Regions from separate parts of the Homo sapiens genome. Here region 1 is linked to region 2. The links are contacts of gene promoters, found by promoter capture Hi-C in human tissues and cell types (Jung and others, 2019). All regions are on one chromosome and are shown on one strand. The core of a region is centred on a gene start or on the middle of the fragment in contact, and the rest is flanking DNA. Distances in the headings are between cores, read along the strand shown. Region 1 overlaps MAPK8IP3 (mitogen-activated protein kinase 8 interacting protein 3). Region 2 holds the start of NDUFB10 (NADH:ubiquinone oxidoreductase subunit B10).

Region 1 (6,938 bases), core at 1,497-3,996, 200 kb before region 2:
GGACCTCCTGCTGCTGCAATCTGTTGATGGAAGGTTTTTGAAACAGAGGAGCCTGCTCTCTGGCAACCAGGATGGACAAATGAGCTGGGACCTGCGCCCCTCTGCCCTAATCAACTCGCCCCATGTCCAGCTCAGCTGCAGAATGGGCATGAACTCCTGAAGACAGCAGGAAAAGGAGTACGCCCTTGTGTGGCTGCCAAGCAGGGGAGAGCCTGGAGCCTGCACAGATCTGGGAAAGAGCATCATTTCAGAAACACGTCAGCTTTGCACGTGACGGGAGGGTGCTTCTGCCAAAAGTCGGCAGGTGGAGAGCGACATCCCTCCGTCCAGCGTCTACGTGGGCGGCCCTGCACCTCTCTCAGCATTTTTACTCTGAGTTCCTTTGGTGATGGAGAAATAAAAAGAGCCCAGGTCGGGCATCTGTTGTATTCCATCGAATCTCAGACAACACCAATTTTAAGACTTTTTTGTTTGTTCGTTCGTTTGTTTCCTATAGAGGTAGGCTGTTGCTGTGTTGCCAGGGCTGGTCTCAAACTCCTAGACTCAAGTGATCCTCCCACTTTGGCCTCCCAAATCACACTGGAATTACAGGTGTGAGCCACTGCACCCAGCCCACATACCATTATTTATTTATTTATTTATTTATTTTTGAGACGGAGTCTTGCTCTGTTGCCCAGGCTGGAGTGCAGTGACACGATATCAGCTCACTGCAAGCTCCGCCTCCTGGGTTCACGCCATTCTCCTGCCTCAGCCTCCCGAGTAGCTGGGACTACAGGTGCCTGCCACCATGCCCGGCTAATTTTTTGTATTTTTTAGTAGAGACGGGGTTTCACCATGTTAGCCAGGATGGTCTCGATCTCCTGACCTCATGATCCGCCCACCTCGGCCTCCCAAAGTGCTGGGATTACAGGCGTGAGCCACCGTGCCCAGCCCCACGTACCATTATTTTAGGAATCTTCAAGAAAGAAAAAACTGCTGCAAATTAAACTATAATGTGACAGTGATTGTTTAAGACCTACTGAAATTTCAGAAATGTTAACATGAGGAAAAAAATGTACGTCTTAGAATTGGTATACTAGGACCGGCCGGGCACAGTGGCTCACGCCTATAATCCCAGCACTCTGGGAGGCCGAGGCGGGTGGGTCATGAGGTCAGGAGTTCAAGACCAGCCTGGCCAAGATAGTGAACCCCATCTCTACTAAAAATACAAAAGAATTAACTGAGTGCAGTGGCAGGTACCTGTAATCCCAGCTACTTGGGAGACTGAGGCAGGAGAATTGCTTGAACCTGGGAGGCAGAGGTTGCAGTGAGCCGAGATCGCACCACCGCACTGCAGCCTGGGCAGTAAGAGCGAAACTCTGTCTCAAAAAAAAAAAAAAATTGGCCTAATAGGGAGTAAGGGAATTAATACTCACTGAGTATGTCGCTGGTGCTGGGAGCTGTACCAGCTATTACCGCACTACCTGGTGGGAATTTCACAGCAAATATTCACTAAGGAACTTATTTTTCTGTTTCACAAATGACTAATACTCAGAGAAGTTATACTATGTGCCTTGCATTGCTGAGCGGAATCTGGAATCCACGCAGCTGATCTTTCTCTCCGCTCTGCTCTGCATGGACGAGGCAGCCCTCAGGAGAGATTCCACCGATGTAGTAGCCAGATGTAGAAACTGTCCACAAATAGGCCGGGCACAGTGGTTCATGCCTGTCATCCCAGCACTGTGGGAGGCCAGGGTGGGCGGATCACAAGGTCAGGAGTTCGAGACCACTCTGGCCGACGTGGTGAAACCCCATCTCTACTAAAAATACAAAAATTACCCGGGTGTGGTGGCGGGCCCTGTAGTCCCAGCTACTCAGGAGGCTGAGACAGGAGAATCACTTGAACCTGGGAGGCGGGGGTTGCAGTGAACTGAGATCATGCCACTGCACTCCAGAGCGAGACTCCGTCTCAAAAAAAAAAAAAAAGAAGAAGAAAATATCCACAAATAACCTTGAGAAAAGACAAGCCTGTGTAAGATTCAGAAGCACCATTGAAAGACATAAAAGAAGCTGTACACGCAGAGGGTGTTGCCACGTGCCCGGACCTGAAGACACACCCTGTGAGCTGTCTGCTGACATGACAGGCAGCCCCACCGTTCCCACAGGAATCCGTTCATTACCAGTAAAAATACCCACATGCTTGTTGGAGATTTTTCTGGAACTCTATGAATGGATCTGAAGTTGATCCAGTAGAGGAAACATGTGAGAATATCCCAGAAAATGTGGGGAGAGAAAAAGCTTGCAGGATTCCACATAAAGCTGCGGCAGTTGAGGCAGGCAGCAACAAACCTGTGATACGAGCTCATGAGCTCAGGGCCAAGAGCCAAGACAGACCTGGAGCCATGGGGAATTCATCTATGTATGACAAGTATGGCATCTCAAACCGTGGAAAACGGGCAGATGAGTCAGTAAATGTACTGCCTTAGTTGCTGCTGGTGTAAAATGAAGTCTAAGCCTGACCTCCCCGTAAACAGCAGTGATTTCCAGGTGGATTAAAGATCTAAGTACACAATTACGAGGACAACAGAATGCAGCCGGGTGTGCTGGCACCTGTGGTCCTAGCTACTTGGGCGTCTGAAGTGGGAGGATCACTTGAGCCTGGGAGTTCAAGGATATAGTGAGCCATGATTGTGCCACTGCACTCCAGCGTGGGGGACAGAGCAAGACCCTGTCTCAGAAAAATAAGAACGTCAACAAAGGATAGTAGAACTGGAAAAGGGGCCGGGTGCGGTGGCTCATGCCTGTAATCCCAGCACATTGGGAGGCCAAGGTGGGCGGATCACGAGGTCAAGAGATCGAGACCATCTTGGCCAACATGGTGAAACCCCATCTCTACTAAAAATACAAAAATTACCTGGGCCTGGTGACACATGCCTGTAATCCCAGCTACTCAGAAGACTAAGGCAAGTGAATCGCTTGAACCCGAGACGTGGAGGTTGCAGTGAAGTGAGCCAAGATCGCGCCGTTGCACTCCAGCCTGGTGACAGAGTGAGAGTCTTTCTCAAAAAAAAAAAAAAAAAAGGAAAAGGAAGTTTATAGGCTATACCAATAAACATCTGAAAAGATGCTCAATTTCGGAAATAATAAAGAAATAAAGAGAAAATCAAGAAAACTTTTTCCCTAAAAGATTGAAAATAAGACAATCGAGGCTGACTAGGGTGGAGCAGGTGCTGCCCTACGTGCCAGCCAGGGGTGATGGGTGCAGCCCCACCGAGCACTGGCGGGTGGTAATGGTGGTGGACCAGCAGCTGGAGATGCTCCTTCGAGGGAGCAGTCGGGCAGTCACAGGGCTGAAAAGTACCTCAAGCCCTCACACAGGGACCCCAAGTCTTGGGGGAGCGGGTACAGTGACAGATGATGAGATATTCCCATAGAGAAACACTACAGGGCATTGAAAGCAACCAGGCCAGGGGCGGTGGCTCATGCCTGCCAAGGCAGGTGGATCATTTGAGCTGAGAAGTTCAAGACCAGCCTGGGCAACATGGCAAAACCCCGTCTCTACCAAATACTTAGCTGGGCATGGTGGTGTGCACCCATGGCCCCAGCTACTTGGGAGGCTGATGGGGAGGATTGCTTAAGCCTGGGAGGTGGATCGCGCCACTTCACTCCAACGTGGGTGACAGAACGAGACCCCATCTAAAAAAAGCAACCGGGGTCAGGCACAGTGGCTCACACCCGTAATCCCAGCACTTTGGGAGGCCAAGGTGGGCAGATTGCTTGAGCCCAGGAGTTGAAGACCAGCCTGGGCAACATAGTGAGACCTCATTTTTACTAAAACACACACACACACACACACACACACACACACACACACACACACACAAATTAGCCGGGCGTGGTGGCATGTACCTGTAGACTCAGCTACTCAGGAGGCTGAGGTGGGAGGATCTCTTGAGCCTGGGAGGTCAACGTTGCAGTAAGCTATGATAGTGCCACTGCACTCCAGCCTGAGCAACAGAGTGAGACCCCGTCTCAAAAAATAAATAAAGGCATCCAGGAACCTCAGCACAGGAAAGTCCCATAAAAGTGCTGAGTGGAACACAGGAAGCCTCCCAGAGAGATGGATAATGGGGTCCCGTTTTTGTTCTTTGAAACCTGTTGCTTATCTAGAAGGAAACCTGAGAGGAGAATATTGGCCGTGAGCAGTGGTTGCCCTGGGAAGCCGAGATGAGAGAGAAGGACATCTGCTCTCGAATTGGGAATTGCTTTATTATTGGAATTCCGATAACAAACAGCCGTTTTGTCATCTAAATCAAGTGACATTTTTTTTTTAATTGAGGCGGAGTCTTGCTCTGTCGCCCAGGCTGGAGTGCAGTGGCGTGATCTCAGCTCACTGCAAGCTCTGCCTCCCGGGTTCAGCCACTCTCCTGCCTCAGCCGCCCGAGTAGCTGGGACTACAGGTGCCCGCTACCAGGTCTGGCTGATTTTTTGTATTTTTAGTAGAGACGGGGTTTCACCGCATTAGCCAGGATGGTCTCAATCTCCTGACCTTGTGATCCGCCCGCCTCGGCCTCCTAAAGTGCTGGGATTACAGGCGTGAGCCACCACGCCCTGCTCAAGTGACTTTTTAATGCCATTTTCCTTTCTGTGTGAAACAACCAAGTAGAAGAGAACCGCGTCCTCACCTCTGTTGGAGGAAGTGGTGTTTTCCCGCAGAGCGTTTCCCTCGCCAGCCTCCTGTGCAGGGAGGGGCCAGGACCCAGTGAGGATGCCTCGCCCGCCCCACGCTCCCCAGCCCTCCTCTGCTTTCTGGCATGTTCTCTCTGCCCTCCACAGTGGGGCCCTTGCTCCCATTGTGACTTCAGTCATCCTTCACCGAGGTCCTGCCCTACCCAGGCTGACCCAGAAGCCTAGGAGTCCAGCTCCAGGCCTGCGTCTGCGGTGTCTCCCTCGCCGCTCTCTCCCTCGCCCACGCTGGGGGGCTTTTGGAGACTGGGTACCTGCCACACCCTGCCACACACACTCTCCTCTTCACAGGCCTGCATCATGGGGGCTGCGGGGGGCCTGCCCTCCTGATGGGCGATGGGAGCAGAGGGCAGCAGGCTTCCGGGTCAGGGCTCGGCAACACAGCCCTGGGCTGGACCACGGCGCCTGGGCCTGGTTCCCTGCAGGCCTCTGCCTGGGCACACGGGGCACCGGGACCTGCTGGAGGCTGCTCCCTCTCTCTCCTGCCCTGCAACATGGGAGCAGCCGAATCATTGCTGGGTTTTCTGTAATAAGAATGTATTGTTAGTTCCAGTCCCTAATTGACCTTTGTCCCTTCCTTCCCCTGCCTCTCTGTGCGTCGCTGGACTCGCCAGGGGAGTTCTCAGGTGAGTATCTCACTCTCCTGTCTGTCTCCCCTCTGTGTGACGGGGGGAGTGGGTGGACGGGGGATGCCCCGAGCTATCCCGTCACCGTGGCTGTGTGGACTGCCCCCCACGTCGCCGCAGCGCCTCTGCTTCTGCTCGCAGCCACCGCCGCTCGGAAGCTTGTTCGGTTTGCTCCACCAGCCACTTGACAATGACCTGGATATCCAACCCCCCCAGCCTGAGGAGTCCCCCGCGGGCCATTTCTGAAGGCCCTGCGGAGCCCTAAGCCACGCACGGCAGTGACTGGACATGGCCAAGGCCAGCTCTGGGGCCTCCCCTGCTGTCAGGCACACCCCAGAAGTCAGGGGTCCTTGAAGCCCCTACGAAGCCCAGCCCGGGGTCCCCTCCCCACGTGGGTGGACAGGCCGAGTCCTGCTCTCTGGCTGCACAGCAGGAGGCTCCGAGGCCCCACCCAGAGGCTGTCCAGATGCAGCCCCCCAGCCTCCAGGCACAGCCCATCCCCACAGGGGTGCCTTCTGCCCTCAGCCCCACCCAGCCCAGAATTTGGGGTGAGATGTTAGCTTCCTGCTCCACAGGTGACACTGGCCTGGCAGTCTTCATGTAACCCCAAGGATAAACTTTCCAGAAGGAATAGCTGGCTCCATCCCATCTCCTGCCCTCCTAACTCCCTCCTGCACCCACCCTAACCCAGCAGACCCAGCTCTGAATTCCTCCCAGCCTGCTGTCCACACGGGCTTAACGCGCTTCTCTTCTCTCCCTTTCTCCCTCTCCTCCCGCCCTGGTTGCCCATCTCCTGTGGGACGGGGACGGCTCCCTAGTGCGCGATGATTTCTTTGGTAAGGCTGAGGCCCCGTTCCAGCGTGCGTCGCTCCTCCACCCCGACATGGTCTCCTGCTTCATGAGCCGTTTGCTTTGTTCTGCATGATGGGGACAGTGTTGGGGCCGCCGGGGTCAGGGGGGCAGCCCTGAGTGAAGCTCGCTCTGTCCAGGCTGCCTCTGGGCTGTGGGAGGTGGCGACTTCCCCAAGGGACAGACTTGAAGGCCCGAGGAGGGCAGCCCCAGCCTCTCTGAACCCCACAAGCGCCGGGCAGACCCTGCCTGTGGGGAGGAAGGCCCATGTTTGAGGCAAGGGAGGTCATAATAGAGACAGCAGGCAGGACCCCTGAGCCCAGGCACAGAGGCGTGTGATGCTGTTTCATGACTGCATACACAGTGGGGGAGTGTGTGGGAGGGCAGGACCTTGGAGTTTCTTTCCATCCTTTTGGGGTTTCTGGGGCATGCTTGCAGGGAGATCAGTCCAGGTCCACTTGGGGCCTCGTGGTAGAGGAGCCTTCAGTCCTGCCAGGGAGCCCTGTCCTCACAGCCGCGCCCCATCGCCGCACCCCAGCCCTGCTGGCCCTGCCGTGAGGGCCAGGCCTCTCCTTGCCCACCTGTCCCCTCACCGCAGCTCCAACATCACTCGCCTAGGGTGGTGGCTCCGAGAGGGCCTGCCTGGTGACAGACCTGCTGGGGGCACTGAGATGGCAGCCCAGCGGCCATTCAGGGGCCTGCGTCCGGCCAGCTGGCCTGTGACATTGGTCGGACATG
Region 2 (2,548 bases), core at 49-2,548:
CTGGAGCAGGGGGCGGCGCTCGTCGGGGAGGTTCGGGCCGCACAGGAGCCCACGGAGTGGGGGAGGCTCAGGCATGGCGGGCTGTAGGTCCCGAGCCCTGCCCCGCGGGGAGGCAGCTAAGGCCTGGCGAGAGAAATCGAGCGCAGCGCCGGTGGGCCGGCCTGCTGGGGGACCCAGCACACCCTCCGCAGCCGCTGGCCCGGGTGCTAAGCCCCTCATTGCCCAGGGCCGGCAGGGCCGGCCAGGCTCTCCGAGTGCGGGGCCCGCCGAGCCCACACCCACCTGGAATTCGCGCTGGCCCGCAAAGCACCGCGCGCAGCCCCGGTTCCCGCCTGCGCCTCTCCCTCCACACCTCCCCGCAAGCTGAGGGAGCCCGCTCTGGCCTTGGCCAGCCCAGAAAGGGGCTCCTCAAGTGCCGCCAAAGTGGGAGCCCAGGCAGAGGAGGCGCCGAGAGCGAGCGAGGGCTCTGAGGACTGCCAGCACGCTGTCACCTCTCACTGTTTGTCTGTAGGGTTGATGGTTCTGTGTCGCTGGCCTCAACCTCAGGACAGGACATGACCAGTGTCCCCCCTGGATAGCAGCCAGGGGCCGTGCCAGGTGTGGAGACTGAAGATGTGGCCAGCAGGACCCTGCTCAGTGGAGCTGCCTAGAAGCACCAGAGTGCCCCAGGGCCAGGATGGAACCATCAAAGCCGGCCAGAGGGCCCTGTGCCCAGGGTAGGTGCCTTCTCCCTATGAGCCGCCTAAGGGCAAGCCCTGCCTCCTGGTCTGCTCCCTGCCCTCCCCCAGACAGGCTCCCAAGTTAACTGGCACCAGCCAGTCCATGAGGGGCCCTTGTAGAGAGCGGGGCCCAGAGAAGTCTGTAGGGACTAGGCAATCCAGGAAAGCTTCCTGGAGGAGTAGGGTGTTTGGAATCGCGTGCTATTTGTTCACTTTGTCGTGTGCGCTCTAACGGCCTGTGTTCTCCATCACAGTTTATCTTATTCCCTGCTGCACTCAGCACAGTGCCTGGCGCGCAGTGGGAACCGAATGACCCCCTCCTATTCCTTATGTCAGTTGCCTTTTGTCTGTTTCTTTCATCGTAAGCAGGAATCTGTCCGGTTCGCGGCTGCTTCCCAGGCGCCCAGACCAGCGACCAGCACCGCGTAGGCGCTCGGCACAGACCGAGAACGGAGGCCCCACGCGGGGGCGCCCTGCGGCGAGGCGGGTCCCGGCCGCGCCCGGCGGAGCCGGGGAACTACAAGTCCCATGGTGCATCGCGGCGCCAGCGCGCAGACGCAGCCGCCCTCGGCGTCCTCTGTAGCGGGCGACCTAGGCCGCGGGACCCGGACGGAGGTAGAGGCCAGGGCAGCGCGTCCGGGAGCGGAGTCCGCGCCCGCCGCCGCCATGCCGGACAGCTGGGACAAGGATGTGTACCCTGAGCCCCCGCGCCGCACGCCGGTGCAGCCCAATCCCATCGTCTACATGATGAAAGCGTTCGACCTCATCGTGGACCGACCCGTGACCCTCGTGAGAGGTACGAAGCCCCAGCCCGGGGCTCCCTCGCCGGCCTCTGGGGACCCCTGGATCCCACACCCTGCCTGGATCCTCCAATGCCTCCGGGGTCCCGTCTGCCTGAGACCGCCCCCCGCTGCACCCCGGGGACAACTCCCCACCCCCGGAGACCTCCGAGCTCCGTCGCCTCCTTTGGCCTCCCACTGCACCCCGGACCTCACCTCCCAGGATCCCTTACTCTCCCCTGCACCCCGGGATGCCCCGCTTCTTCCCAGGACTCTTCCCTCCCTGCCGCACCCAGCGCCCACTGCCCCAGGACCCCGCACTGCTCTCCGCCCCCCGCCGCCCCGGGCACCCCTCCACTGCACCGCTGGCCTCAGGCCTCTCTCAAATGTCTCTCTGCCGGATGACCAAGTGTCGGGGTGATGGCCGAGATGCCCAAATTCAGCATCTCTGGAACGAACCGGGAAAATGCCCAGTTCAGTTTTTGTTGTTTTTTTTTTTCCTGAGACAGTCTCACTCTGTTGCCCAGGCTGGAGTGCAGTGGCGCGATCTCGGCTCACTGCAACCTCTGCCCCACCCCGGGTTCAAGCGATTCTCCTGCCTCAGCCTCCCCAGTACTAGGATTACAGGCGCACCACCACCACGCCCAGCTAATTTTTATATTTTTAGTAGACACGGGGTTTCACCATGTTGGCCAGGCTGGTCTCGAACTCCTGACCTCAGGTGATCCTCCCACCTTGGCCCCCAGGTGCTGGGATTACAGGCCTGAGCCACCGTGTCCAGCCTGGTTCAGTTCTTTTTGAACACTTGGGGTGCATAGCATGCTCTGGTGGTTCTTCCGTAAGAGGGTGAAGTCTCCAAATCAAACCCCCAAAGATCTGGAAACCGTGCAACAGCGGACCCAGCTCCCTCTCTTTTGTAGCAGTTGTAGAGCATGTCTGTCCTATGTGTCTGGATGTTCGAGCTCTCCTTTTAGCTCGTTCATTTCCCAGTGAGGAAGCTGAGGCCGTAAGGTGGTAAGTTCTGCTTGCTGGAGGCTCCCTGTTGGAGCC

What was found. Contacts are between HindIII fragments. The study calls those that stand out against the background at their distance.
Region 1: a contact is called between a fragment that was not itself captured here and the fragment with the promoter of NDUFB10 in region 2, in 1 of the 25 tissues and cell types used here (thymus).

What each region holds. Positions count from the first base shown.
Region 1 is chr16:1,752,809-1,759,746 of GRCh38, forward strand. MAPK8IP3 (mitogen-activated protein kinase 8 interacting protein 3) reads left to right here. Exons shown (of 32, transcript NM_001318852.2): 9 at 5,340-5,351; 10 at 6,170-6,187. Among named protein-coding and RNA genes, the nearest start is that of NME3, 15 kb to the right of the region's middle. The HindIII fragment of the contact is 7,397 bases long and covers 1-6,445 here.
Region 2 is chr16:1,958,240-1,960,787 of GRCh38, forward strand. It overlaps NDUFB10 (NADH:ubiquinone oxidoreductase subunit B10), which reads left to right and starts at 1,299. Exons shown (of 4, transcript NM_004548.3): 1 at 1,299-1,515. The coding sequence starts at 1,386. RefSeq lists an enhancer at 1-356 and silencers at 1,079-1,388, 1,819-1,928. The HindIII fragment of the contact is 2,906 bases long and covers 266-2,548 here.